3 separate regions of the Homo sapiens genome follow, and all the other regions are linked to region 1. Evidence: promoter capture Hi-C in human tissues and cell types (Jung and others, 2019). All regions are on one chromosome and are shown on one strand. The core of a region is centred on a gene start or on the middle of the fragment in contact, and the rest is flanking DNA. Distances in the headings are between cores, read along the strand shown. Region 1 overlaps LRP4 (LDL receptor related protein 4). Region 2 holds the start of PSMC3 (proteasome 26S subunit, ATPase 3). Region 3 holds the start of SPI1 (Spi-1 proto-oncogene).

Region 1 (4,389 bases), core at 1,091-3,590:
CAGAGAGATTTTGCTTTTTACAGAGTAAATCAGTGCTCAAATAGATACTTCCTCAAATATGTCCTTTCTACATTCTGAACAGCCCAAGTGCAATAAGATCCTTCCCCCTTTCCAATCAAGAAAATGCCACTTTTCTACTTGCTCTTCCTCCCCAGACGTGAGTCTAAGGACCCAAAGTGCTCACTCCTTTACTGCTTGTTAAGTGTAATGTGGGGAGGCTCAGAACTGGGGCTGACGCTACTGAGAGCAAGGCTAAGGGCCTGGTATCTCTCTCTAGCAGTCTTAGAACTGACTAGAAAAGAATTGATCTTGTCCTTTTTCACTTTGGTAGCTGATTTCTCAATACCAGTAACCACAGGAGAAGTTTCAACTCAGGAAACTTCCCCTAGAAATTCTCCCCTCCATTCCCAGCCCCTGTTGTTCTCTCCTGCCACTTCTAATTCCTGGGGGAGAAGAGGTCTGGGTCTGCCATGGGCTAGGAGGGCCTCATCAGTGGTGCTCTCTACCTTCCTACTCCTTACCCACCTCTTTGTATTTTTATTTATTCAGCCCTCCCACCACAGGACTTTGGAGATTGCTGGTGCCACAAGGCTTGGTCAGAAAAAGCAAATTAGGCAAAAAAACAAACAAAAAAACCCCACGAAGAACAGCTAGGGAGACGTTTTAGGGCAAAAATAAGTCTCAATTTCCCTGATACCAGGCTGAGACACGTGCCCTTTGTGTGAATGAGCATGAACCAAGTGATGGCATCCCACATGGAAACTAAGCCCCTTAGCTGAGGGGACAGCTGGAAGAGGAACATCACCACCCCGTAGCCACAGGCTTGCTGTCCACTAACTTAGATCCCTGAGCACTTGAGAAAGAACATAGGAAGTTCAACAGGAAGTTTGACCCTCATGGATACTTCTCTTTAGGCCCTGGGTTTCCCAAGTCTCCAACCTGATCGTTCTTTCTGACCATTTATGACAACTTCTGGTTTTTCTTTGAAAGCTTGTTTCTAGGTCTCTTCCCCAGAATCCCAGGACATGAGGGAGAGAGGGGTCAGGAGGTATACCATATTTGGTCTAGGCAGAGCTTCTTAGACTTTTCAGAGACTCAGCCCCCAAGGCCTAACATTCACTCAAGCCACTGGCTCACAACCTGGTTAATTTGAGCAAAGACTTAGGAAAGGTACTGGCCAGTGGTGGCACCAGGAGGGAATTCCTATTAGCCAGTAGCCTTGTGATAGGGGACCCAGTTATCTGAATGTAGAAACAGCTCCAGACATTCTAGGAGGAGGAAGAACAGCCTGAGCCACCCCCATCTCACCAGTATCTGCTGCTGAAAAGGCAGTGTCTCTTAGGGCAAGAATAATGTCCACTGCCAGCAATGGACCAGACACCCAGATCCAACTACCCCCCAAAGCTTTTTCATGTTACTAACACACTTGAGGCTGGAGGTTTCCCAGATGCCCATACCTGCTGGGCTGATTCTTCCTTCTTCTCTCAGCCTCTATCCTTCATCCCTGTCTTTACCCACACCCCCATGTCCCAGCCCCTGATGGGCAAGTTCTCTCAGAGAAGCAGTCATGCTGGCTGTGATGGGGCAGAGCGCAGTCCTGGGTCATCAGCTGCATCAGCACTGAGAAGCAGGCACTGAGGGTACTGGGGAAAGGGGAGGTGGAGCTCTACGCTGGTGAGGAATCACGAATAAGCAGTTTCAGGGGGCCCAGGATGGAGTACAAGATGTGAGGTTCATGGTAAAATCCAGGTCTAAATTCTCGTGATGTGCCATCATTTCTTGTGCACAGGTAGTTATGGACTCACGTGGTAAACAGCTCCGGTGAAGGCTTAGGAACAGTTATGGGGTGGGAGGAGGAGGAGGACAAGCACACAGAAGCGGGGCCTGCGGTGTAAGCGAGCACAAGGACTAGACGTCCATAAAGGAGAAGGAACAGGCAGGCAGGGAAGAGAATGTGGGCATTTAGACCTGGCTCTCTGAGGAGAGCTTGCGTTCATGTTTCCAGCCCGTGTCTGGCAGAGAGCCTCGTCTTTCTGGAGTGGCTGCAGTATGGACGCTGCTACACTCAGACTGCTCTTCCTGTAACAGCTGCTCCGTCTCTGTGTCATCCAGGGAGCCAGAGCTGGCCTGGATGGACACCGTGTCTGTCTTCATGCATACATGATCCCGGAGGAGGCCCCCCCGTGAGCTTCGCAGTTGCTTGAGGTCATCCCACTCAGCATCATCCCCAGACAGGAGGCAGATTCCCTCTACGATCTTGATCTTCTCCTTGGTGTAGTTATGGTCAGGCCCTCCCTAGGGTGGAGAGTGGGCAGATATGGTCAGTCAGTTGGCCTTCTACAAAGGATCCCATGGTAAACTGAAAAAGGAAGTGGATGGGGTAAGAGTAGGAGTGAAGCGCACAAAAATCCCACAAACAAATGGGGAAATGTGATTAAGACAAGTGTATGAGGCCTAGCCTAAAAGGGGAGAGGCAGCTGTGATAATTATTACCATTACCATACAGGAGGAGGGAAAACCATGGCTTCCGGTCCTGCAGCAGCCACTCACTGGCTTTGTCACCTTAGGCAAATTATTTCACATTTCTAAAACTCAGTCTCTTAAGACTCTGCAGTGTGAGGAGAGTAACAGTATCCACACCTCACAACCAACTGCTGTCACCTTAAATGAGATGATACATGGAATGCAGTTATCAGGGAGCTTGACACAAGATGCACTATAACATGTTAGCTATGTTACATTGTTACTGTGGTTTATTAATGGGACATCATGCTGATATAAATCATCAAAAGCAATTGGCAAGAGCAATTAAATGTACATTTATTCAGGATTTTAAGCTACTTCGGGTGCTAGTTTGTATCTCTTTTTTCTAATTTTGTTAAGGAGAAAACTTGGGAGGTAAGACAGGGGACTCTAGAAAATCCTCTTATCTGGCCGGGCGTGGTGGCTTACACCTGTAATCCCAGCACTTTGGGAGGCCCAGGCGGGCAGATCACTTGAGTTCAGGAGTTCGAGACTAGCCTGGCCAACATGGTGAAACCCCATCTCTACTAAAAATACAAAAATCAGCTGGGTTTGGTGGCGGGTGCCTGTAATCCCAGCTATTTGGGAGGCTGAGGCAGGAGAATCCCTTGAACTCCGGAGGCTGAGGTTACAGTGAGCCAAGATCATGCCACTGCACTCCAGCCTGGGTGACAGAGCAAGATTCCATTAAAAAAAAAAAAAGAAAGAAAGAAAGAAAAAAAACTAAAAAAAAGGAAATCTTCTTATCTGGGTCCTAAACGTCAATATAGTGGGGTCCTGCAACTTATAACCTTTTTTGGGAGGTTACTCTCGCTCTGCTGCCATGAGTCCTGGGACCATTCCCAAGCAAAACCTGGGACTCTTCCAGGCACAGCCTGGAGTTCTGCTCGGGCCTCTCCCTTTATGGCTTCTTCAAAGAGCAGCCTCACTCCTGGCTGCTGGGGTATACCAACCGACATACCACCACTGCTAGAAGAAAATGGATCATCTTGGGTTCTGTCCCTGGGATAGTATTCCTGCCAAGAGTTCTGCAACTGTGGCTGTGGCTCTATTTTTGTAACAATTCAATTCCACAGATATTTACTGAGCCCCTATGTTAAGCAGAAGACTGTGCTAGGTGCTTTGATGATTATACAATATAAAACATGGTCCCTGCCCTCTGAGAGTGACAGTCCCCTCAGCCATGCAGAGTGGGACATAGCACACAAGCAAACACACAGATGTCTGTTCACCCAGCACACCCTCCAAGATGAAATTAGTATAAGATGCAGACCACTCAATGTCTTAATTAAGAGACACGCTGGGTAAGTTAGGGAGAGGTGGGGGATATGGCACTTGCAATTTGGGAAACACCACTCCCTCTACAAACACACAGCAACAGGTACCTGAAATCAAGAGGAAATCAGAAGAGAAAAGGTGAAAGACTATCAGAGGGGTGAAAGAGCTGCTGAGGAAGAAACACACAACAGAAGAAAGAGGTCACACTATTTTCATTGCTATCCTGTGGCCTTCATTGTGGTTCTTTTCTGGAGCATCAGATACTCCAGGAACCCAAGAATCTTCAAGAGTCTTTCTCTCAAAGATATTGGGGAGGGGTCTACCATTCCTAGAACTACAAGCCATCCCTGCACATTCTGTTTTGACTGCAGTAGAAGCTTTTAAAAAATTTTTAATTTCAATTTTTTTTTTCAAACACCAACTTGAACCAGAAGTAGTGGAAGCTATTTAAATACGGGAATTCATGGATCCAGAAAGCACATGATTATTATGTGAAATGTGTTTATTACACATGAGAGCCCTGCAGGTGTGAGAGCAGGTTCTGACTGTGCTAGATAGGCCAAAGAAGTAGACTGATGAGGATCTTCA
Region 2 (4,389 bases), core at 1,232-3,731, 570 kb after region 1:
AAGACACATTAGGGAGATGAGCTGCATCAATGGCGTGGAGAAACTAAAAGGCTGACAAGGCTGCTGGCAGCTGCCGTGCCTCCCTCACCTCCTGGATCTGCTTGTCCAAACCCCCAATGTCACTGTATTGCTCCGTGGGCCTCTCGTCTACCTCCATGGCCTTCACCCGCGAGTCATACTCTGTGGGCAGCGTCTCCAGGATCAGATAGGAGTCTTTGTTCACACCCTAAGGACACAGCACAGGGCCTTCAGATTTGGCCCAGCTCAAGGGCTACCCAACTGACTGGGTGACAGGTGTCTGCAGAGGGAAAGACACAGGACTGGGCAATACAAGAATCAAACAGCAAGTAGACAGAATCCCAGACTCTCGGAGCTGTTCTGCCAAGATTCAGAGCCAACAGTGACCTGGGGCGGGTACAGGGGCTCAGCTAGTCACCAGAAAAGCACTGCCTGGGCTCAGGCCCCACTCACCACCAGGTCTCCTGGCTTTAGCTTTTCAGCATCCACCAACCCAATCACAGGAAGGAAGTACGTCTGTGGACAAGTTACAGGGGCAGTCTCAGTTAGTGTCCTCAGGGAAGGCTCCCTAGTCCTGTCCCACATCCGCTCCTCACCCTCCTCCAGTCTCTCATTGCTGAGCCACGCTCACCTGTCGTGTAGAGGTTTTGATCACAGCACACTTGCCCTTCCTCTGGGAGTCCAGGTCAATATTGGCACCATCCTCCTCTTGGTCATTAGGATCAACATCCAGGAGCTGGGAAGGAAAAAATACTCAGCTCCTTGAACTCCCCAAGGCCCAGTGCTTCCTAAGACAGTTCCTAATACCTGCAGGGCTGGCCATCCTTACCTCCCTCCTCCAATAGCCCTGAGCCCACCAAACGTGGGTGCCCCTGCTAAGCCCAGGGATTGATCTCTGTGTAGGTGCTGCTCCTCTGCACAGGGCTCATCTACCCCGGAGGAGACATAACCAACAGAAAAGGAGACACGTGAGACCTCCCAGGACTTTGCAGGCCCCGTCTTCCCCATGAAAGTGCCCCAGGAGGTGTAGCTCTGACATGCAGTTTGGCCTCAATACCTCCACCCACTCTTTCCCTAGTGGCCCCACCCCAGGCTGTCCCCATTCCCTGCTGACTCCCTCTCTTCCCCTCCACATACACACACACCTCGATGACGTTGGAGACAAGGTACGGCAGGGTCTTGTTCACTTTGATTTTCTCACTGTTCTCTTTTATCTTGTCCTTCATGGCTTGGAGCTCATGGGTGACTCTCAACACTTCACTCTTCATGATCTGAGATCAGGAGGGGAGGAGAAGCAAATATAAACCCTGGCACAGCTTATGCTAGAGCCCTGTAACTAGTGAGGTCCAGGGTGCCCAGGGGACCCTCCCGCATCCATTCATCCAGCTCTGAGGCTCTCTGAAGGCAGAGTCTGACTGTGTCCACATCCTGCAGAAGTCAAAAGAGGAGGCCAGTTTGGAAACCTCCTGGTGAAATAGTGGTAGTATTGGAATAAAAGCAGGCCTCCGAGAGAGGCAAACATAGGTTTTAGGTTCTGCCTCATAGTAAGAACTGGGTGCTTTATCGCAGTACAAACCTCTCTGGGCCTGTCTCCTCATCTGTAAAATAGGCATTTTACTAAAAGAAGGATTCTTGAGAGGATTATTCCCAGTTCTCACTGGGAAAGGCAATCTGATAACTTCTCATCTCAGCCCAGGCCTCCCACCACCCCCTACCTGTCTTCTTGTCCCTTTTAAGGCTTAGTTTTCTTTCCTCTCTTCCTGATATGAGGGGGAAGCCCGAGCCCCATGTCTCCCCCAGGGTGCCCGATTAGGAAGTACGAGAGGCGACTCGGATCGCCGGGGCCTGTCCTGTGGGGGCTCCATCGCCCGCACAGGAGCTGTGCGCCCACCTTGATCTCACTGTCCAGCAGCCGTGTGCGCTGGATGATCTCCTCCGTGGACATCTTGAGCACCTCCTCCCCAATTCCATCTTGCTGTAAAAAATTATTTGTTTATTTATATATTTACTTTTACTCAGGACAAGCATCCCTCGTTCTCCGAACCCACTCACAGCCTCAGTTTCCACGCCCATAAAACCAGGATGGAGTCAGGACCCCTGCCCACATCCCAAACAACCCCGTCCCCGGGATCGGGCCAGACCTTGACCCCCAGCCACCTCCTTCCCTCTTGTCAATGGCGTCTCCCTGCGGGCCCCGGTTCCCGGACCGCCAGCTCGCCCGGTGCCCACCTCGGCCTCATCCCACACGGTCGCCATCTTCTCCTGCCGAGTCACTGGACTCTCAATATTCGGCAGCAGATTCATTTCCTGGAGGAGCGGGCAGAAGATGGGACCAGGCGGGAGCCGCAACGGGAGATTAATACCGTCTTTCTTAAAGCCTTCTCTTGACCAGTGGAAAACCTCTCCCCACAAATCCCGACTCTTGACCCGACCAGCTCCGGCCGTGCTGCGGAGCAGCGAATCTGCCTCTCCGATTCCAAAGACCAACCCCTGGCCACAGGCCCCGCCCCCGCGGACCCCGAAACGTTCCCGCCCGCGTCCTATTTTTGCCGGGCGCGAGAGGTGGGGCCGCTATTGGCCGACACGCGCGTTGGGGGCGGGGCCTATGTGTAAAACCGGAAAGGGAGGGAGAAGGGTGGGATCCGCGAGGGCCTTTGGGAAATGTAGTCTTTAATCTGGCCCGTGACAGATGCTTGCGGAGGGGCGCGTTCAAACTCAGACCGTGACCCCGCTAGGAATAAGGGGATTTACACAATGACACTGCCTCCCAATTAATAAACGACATAGGCCAGCCGTGTGCAAAGGGCCAAAAAGGCATGCCACCTCAGTCCGCATTTTTACAATTATTTAAGTACAAGCTGGCCACCCGGAGTTACGGGAGGGAATCATTAACCAGCTTTAAAGAGAAATCGCTGCTGCTCCTAACGTCAGAGCAGGCTTCACGGAATTGTCCACGTGGGAAGAACTCAATTGACCATCAGCCTCTACGATTAAAAACATTATGACTCGGGCCGGGCGCGGTGGCTCACGCCTGTAATCCCAGCACTTTGGGAGGCCGAGGCGGGCGGATCACGAGGTCAGGAGATCGAGACCATCCTGGCTAACACGGTGAAACCCCGTCTCTACTAAATATACAAAAAATTAGCCGGGCGTGGTGGTGGGCGCCCGTAGTCCCAGCTACTCCGGGCTGAGCCAGGAGAATGGCATGAACCTCGGAGGCGGAGCTTGCAGTGAGCCGTGATCGCGCCACTGCACTCCAGCCTGGGCGACAGAGCGAGACTCCGTCTCAAAAAAAATTATGTCTCGTATCTGCAATTGTTTGTTTTCTCTGACCATGGTTAGTAATCTCAGTGAGCAGAGCGGGTCTCCGGATCATGGGAGACTCATTCGTTGTACCCTTGTCGGCTATTTTAAATGATCTCTCCTTATCCTTTGAGGTGAGCCCTGGAGCCCCTTTAAAGGGAACTTCATGTAAGCAACATAGCTTATATTTCAAGTCAAACCATCACAAACACTCTGTTAACCTGATGAAAATCTGTGCAATCGTTGCCTTTTTTTTGTTTGCTTGTTTGTTTTTTGTTTTTTGAGACGGAGTCTCGCTCTGTCGCCCAGGCTGGAATGCAGTGGCGCGGTCTCTCCCTACCGCAACCTCCGCCTCCCGGGTTCAATGGATTCTCCTGCCTCAGCCTCTCAAGTAGCTGGGATTACAGGCACCCACCACCACGCCCAACTAATTTTTGTATTTTTAGTAGAGACAAGGTTTCACCATGTTGACCAGGCTGGTCTCAAACTCCTGGGCGTAAGTGATCTTCCTGCCTCAGCCTCCTAAAGTGTTGGTACTATAGGCATGAACCACTACACCTAGCCTTTGCAGTAGTTTTTTTTGGAACACGGTTGAAAGCAGAATTTTTTTCTTTAAATAACAACATGTACAGCTGCTCACTCAGGCTGACAAAGCGTCTCCTCAAGTAACAGTGCTTTATTCCATTCTCTCAACAAGCCTGCCTTGTGGACAGACTGAATTACCATTCTCAAATTTAAATAAGCATAGGGAGGCTCAGAGAGGTTAAGTGCCTTGCTGGAGGTTATTCAGTGAGTCACTGGCAGCACTAGGACTGCTGACCCCAAATTCTCACTTTGAGTTGCCCGATAGGAGCCAAGAAGCCCAGAGGGGAAAGACTGTCCAATCTGTGCTGGTCCCACTATGCCTGGGTCAGTTGGGTCCCATTCTGGGGCCTACTTTTGGAGATCCTGACAAATACGAATATGTTTAGAAAGCCTCCAGCCTGGGCCTAGGAGGGATGCAGACATTCTCCCCTTAACCAACTTTTAGGTAGGCTCTTCTGAGCCATCTTTTTTTTTTTTTTTTTT
Region 3 (4,389 bases), core at 721-3,220, 520 kb after region 1:
TGCTTCCTCCTCCCCCTCCTCACTCCCCTCTGTCCTCCTTTTCTTCCCCCTCTTCCCTGTCCTCCTTCTTTCCTCCCACCTTCCTCCCTCCTCCCTGTCCTCCTCCCCCTACTGGCACAGACACAGGGCCGTGCACACCCAGGAGCCTTCCCAACAGTCATCAGGCCTCCCCGCCCCCGCAGCGTGTGGCCCAGGATTGCATAACAGTCACTGTGGCCCTTAGGGCTGGGCTTGGGGGACCGGGGCTGCCTTGGGAGCCCACCCTACCAGGAGACACTCAGAGTGACCCTGGAGCTTGCAGAGAGGGCTGGGGGTGCCTAGGGATGGCCCAAGGAGCTCTGCCACCCATCTAGCTCCACCTGGAGTTCAGAATTGAGAGGTCAGGGATCAGAGACAGTGGGCCTGTGGCTTTCTTGAGGCAGAATTGGCTCTTTCTGAGACAACCTCCGTCACCCTCTGCCTGGGCCGCCCACTTCGTGTTCCCAGGTGGGAAGGGGTGTCGGTGTGGATGCCACAGCAGGCTGGCTGGTCCTGCCTGGTCCTGCCTGTGGCTGGCCAAGTGAGGAGGCCAGGAGCCCAGCACTGAGCCTGCCCCTCTGGGTTTCCAGGTAGTACAGCCTCGCTGCAGGATGTCAGCCCGGCTCTGGTCGGGTTGGTGTGATGTCAGGCCTGGGGTGCCTCCCAGCCTCCTGGGGTGGCTCTGAGCCAGGGCATAGTGGGGGAAGGGAGCTGCCTCTAGACCAGGAAAGTGGATTCAGGTGGGCAGCCTGCCAAGCCCTTCCCGGCTCCCCTCAAGCCTCCTCACTCCTGAGAGGTCATGGGGTGGGAAAAGGGAGAAGGGTCCTTTCCGAGGGACCCTGGTCTGACACCTGCCTAAGGCTGCAACTGTCACTGAGAGTGAGGAGCAGTGGCGATCTGCCCTTCTCTTCTCGGGGTCCCCTGGGGCTCCCACTTCTTCACCCCCAAGACCCAGTCCCTGTCCTTGTCCCAGCCTCAGCCCCCATTCTCACTTATCACATGCTCACCCCAGGTCCCACCCAGCCCCAATCTCAGTCCTGGCCTTGTCCCAGCCCTGTCCCCTGCCGCGCCTCTCCCTGAACTCCAGCCCTGGGGCCAGCCCTAACTGCACTGTCTCAGCTCCACTCCTGGCTCCTTTCCAGCACCAGTCCCTGTCTCCTGTGGGTACCCCTGTGGGCCCATGGCCCTGACCCTTTGGTCAACAATCATGTCCTCTGTGCCAGGCCCCAGACTGGGCGTTGGGGACCCAGAGTTCCATCAGCTTTGGTTTCCAGGAGCCCCAAGGCCATGGGCCAAGACTTCTGCCCATTGCCTCCTGCCTTCAACCCCTTCCCATCCAGGGGACCGGCCTCCCCCAAGCCAGTCCCCCCATCTCCCTCCTCTACCTCTCTACCACCGCCTTCACCATCCTCAGCCCAGCACCCTCCCCAGGAGCCCCGGCCTCCGCCTGCCACCCGAGCCCTGTCTATAAATAACTGTTCAGGCCCCACCGATCACAGCCCCACCGTGGGCCTGGCCTCAGCCCGCCAGGGCATGCTCCGAGGAAGCCAATGGCCCCCTCGCTGGGTCTCAGGCCAGGAGTTCCAGGGAGGAAACCCTGACTTCCCACTGATAGCAAGCCAGGAGGGCAGTGGGTGGGCTGGCGGGTTCGTGGGCAGGCAGGCAGGCGTCCGAGGGCCACGGGTTGGGCTGGTGGAGGAGTCCCGGTACTCACAGGGGGGACGAGGGGAAACCCTTCCATTTTGCACGCCTGTAACATCCAGCCGGGCTCCGAGTCGGTCAGATCCCCTGCCTCGGTGGGGGCCAATGCAGAGCCCCTCAGGATGGGGTGCCCCGTCAGGGGCTGGACGGTCGTGGGGCGGGTGCAGGGCTCAGGCCTGCCCCCTGAGCTACAGGAGCCCTGGGTGAGCCCCCTCCCTTGACATTGCAGGGCCAGCACAAGTTCCTGATTTTATCGAAGGGCCTGCCGCTGGGAGATAGTCCCCTTGGGGTGACATCACCGCCCCAACCCGTTTGCATAAATCTCTTGCGCTACATACAGGAAGTCTCTGGCCGGCTGGGGCAGGTGGTGCTCAAAGGGCTGGCCTGGGAAGCCATGGGGTCCAGGCCCCCTGCCCAGAGGAAGCTGGGACTGAGAGGGATGACTTTGGGGGCTAAGCTGGGGAGGGAGGATGGGAGGGAGAACGTGTAGCTCTGCCACACCACTGGGAGGCTTTTGCTCTAACCCAACAAATGCCTGCTTCTTTTGAGATCCCTATGTAGCCAACAGTCACCTCATTGGGGTCAGAGCTGGAAGGGGTGGCCTCTTGGGGCCTCCACTTTCTGGAGTCAGCCTTCCTGGGTGAGGGCTCTGATCTAGCAGGCTATCAGGCCTGGCTCTTCCTGTGGCCCTGCACCCCCACTGCCTAGGCTATCCCTAGGCTGAGGCTGGGCTCAGGTGTAGGGTCTTCAGCATAGTGCTGCTTTCTTCCTTCCCTCTGAATCTGTTCACATGGGCTTCCCTACCACCAGAAGAGGGTCCTGGGTTCTTATACCCTCCCCTCCCAGCTTCTTGATTACCACATTCAAATCCCTAGGGCTCTGTTTCCAGCCCAGGTTTCTCAGTTTCCCCATCCCTTGGCAATGCCTGAATATCAATCTAACCCTCCTGGTTTACAAACCTTTCTTGCCTATCCACCATTCATCTGTTTTCCCATGCATCTATTTGTCTGTCTATTTGTCCATCCAGCTATCCATTCATCAAGCCCACCATGCATTCACTTATGTGTCCATTTATCCAACTGTCCGTTTGTTTGTTCATTCATCTGTCAGTCAATTCATCCACCCACCCATCTGTTTATCTACTTGTCTATCTAACCATCTATATGTCCATTAATCAGCCCGTCCACCTGCTATCAGTCCATCAGTCCACAATTCCATCTGTTTATCCATCTATGAATCTGCTCATCCATTCATCCACCTGTCCATCCATCCACCCATCCACTCATCCACCCATCTACCCATCCACTCATCTGTCCATCAACCCATCCATCATCCACCTACCCCTTCATTCATTCATCCATCCATCCACCAGTCCACTCATCCACCCATCTACCAATCCACCCACCTACCATTCCACCCATCTATTCATCCACCTATCCATCCATTCACCTATCAGCTTCGGTTTCCAGGAGCCCCATGAGAACAGGCAGTATTTGACTTTCTGTTTCTGCGTTGTTTCGCATATGATAATGTCCTCCAATTCCATCCATGTTGCTGCAAAGACATAATTTCATTCTTTTTTATGGCTGAATAGTATTTCATTATATATATATATAAATACAATATAACATGTTATTTATTCACTCACCCGTTGATGGACACTTATGTTGATTCTGTATCTTTGCTATTATGAATAGTGCTGTGATAAACATACAAATGCAGTATCTTTTTGGTATCACTCATCCATCCAGCCATCCATTCATCCATCCATCCATTCATCCACCTATCCACCCATCTACCCATCTACCCATTTACTCATCCACCTGTCCACCAATCCAGCTATCTACCCATTCATCCATCCACTCATCCACCTATCCATCCATCCACTCATTCATCCAGCCATCCACAAATCCACCCATCCACTTATCTATCCATCCATCCATTCATCCATCCACCAATCCACTCATCCACTTATCTATCCATCCATCCATTCATCCATCCATCCATCCACTCATCCACACATCTACCGATTCACTAATCCACCCATCCACCAATCCACTCATCTACCCATCCATCTATCCATCCATCCACTCATTCATCTATCTGTCTATCCACTTATCTGTCCATCCATGCATCTTCCCAATGTTGAGTTCCAGGCTCTAAGCTGAGCGCTGGGAAAACAAAAAAGTATTATACAAGACCCCTGCCTTCAGAGAGTTCCTGATCTTTTCTGGGGGGTGGAGGGATGAGTAGAGGCATTTTTGTTTTGTTGTTGTTGTTGTTGTTGTTGTTTTTCTGGCCCAGTGATCTCTGGTGAGTCCCCTCTGCTGGGAAGGAATTTTGAACATTCAGTGTCCTCCCCTGTATAATCTAACCCCTTGCTTTAAATTCCCACTCCACTAAGACAGGCCTGCCTTCTTGCCAGTGGATTCCTAGGCCACAAGTGTTTTTTCATTAGCAGCAAACACCAGAATTTCACAGCTCTGGGCTCACCATTAGATCTACTTGACTTCCACCTTCACTGACTTTGTATCTGCACTTGGGACTCTCCAAAGGCTCCAGGCCACAGGTCCTCAGGGCTCCCTAGGAACCTGACCAAGGCCTCTCCCAAAAAGGAGGGGAGGGACAGGTTGGCTTGGCATCAGTTCCATCCTTGTTCCCACTTCCCCA

Evidence for each region. The method cuts DNA at HindIII sites, captures the fragments that hold promoters and counts their contacts. A contact is called where the count stands out against the background at its distance.
Region 2: the fragment with the promoter of PSMC3 here is called in contact with a fragment that was not itself captured in region 1 in 1 of the 25 tissues and cell types used here (stomach).
Region 3: a contact is called between the fragment with the promoter of SPI1 here and a fragment that was not itself captured in region 1, in 1 of the 25 tissues and cell types used here (dorsolateral prefrontal cortex).

What each region holds. Positions count from the first base shown.
Region 1 is chr11:46,857,021-46,861,409 of GRCh38, forward strand. LRP4 (LDL receptor related protein 4) reads right to left here. Exons shown (of 38, transcript NM_002334.4): 38 at 1-2,295. The coding sequence ends at 1,963. The region is part of intron 2 of LRP4-AS1 (LRP4 antisense RNA 1); the gene reads left to right. Among named protein-coding and RNA genes, the nearest start is that of LRP4-AS1, 13 kb to the left of the region's middle. The HindIII fragment of the contact is 4,802 bases long and covers 1-4,389 here.
Region 2 is chr11:47,423,958-47,428,346 of GRCh38, forward strand. PSMC3 (proteasome 26S subunit, ATPase 3) reads right to left here and starts at 2,482. Exons shown (of 12, transcript NM_002804.5): 1 at 2,248-2,482; 2 at 1,910-1,993; 3 at 1,164-1,289; 4 at 650-754; 5 at 472-534; 6 at 89-226. The coding sequence starts at 2,322. RefSeq lists silencers at 2,109-2,320, 2,591-2,720 and an enhancer at 2,291-2,490. The HindIII fragment of the contact is 16,812 bases long and covers 1-4,389 here.
Region 3 is chr11:47,376,577-47,380,965 of GRCh38, forward strand. SPI1 (Spi-1 proto-oncogene) reads right to left here and starts at 1,971. Exons shown (of 5, transcript NM_003120.3): 1 at 1,733-1,971. The coding sequence starts at 1,777. RefSeq lists enhancers at 525-724, 1,395-1,444, 1,618-2,569, 2,065-2,134. The HindIII fragment of the contact is 21,953 bases long and covers 1-4,389 here.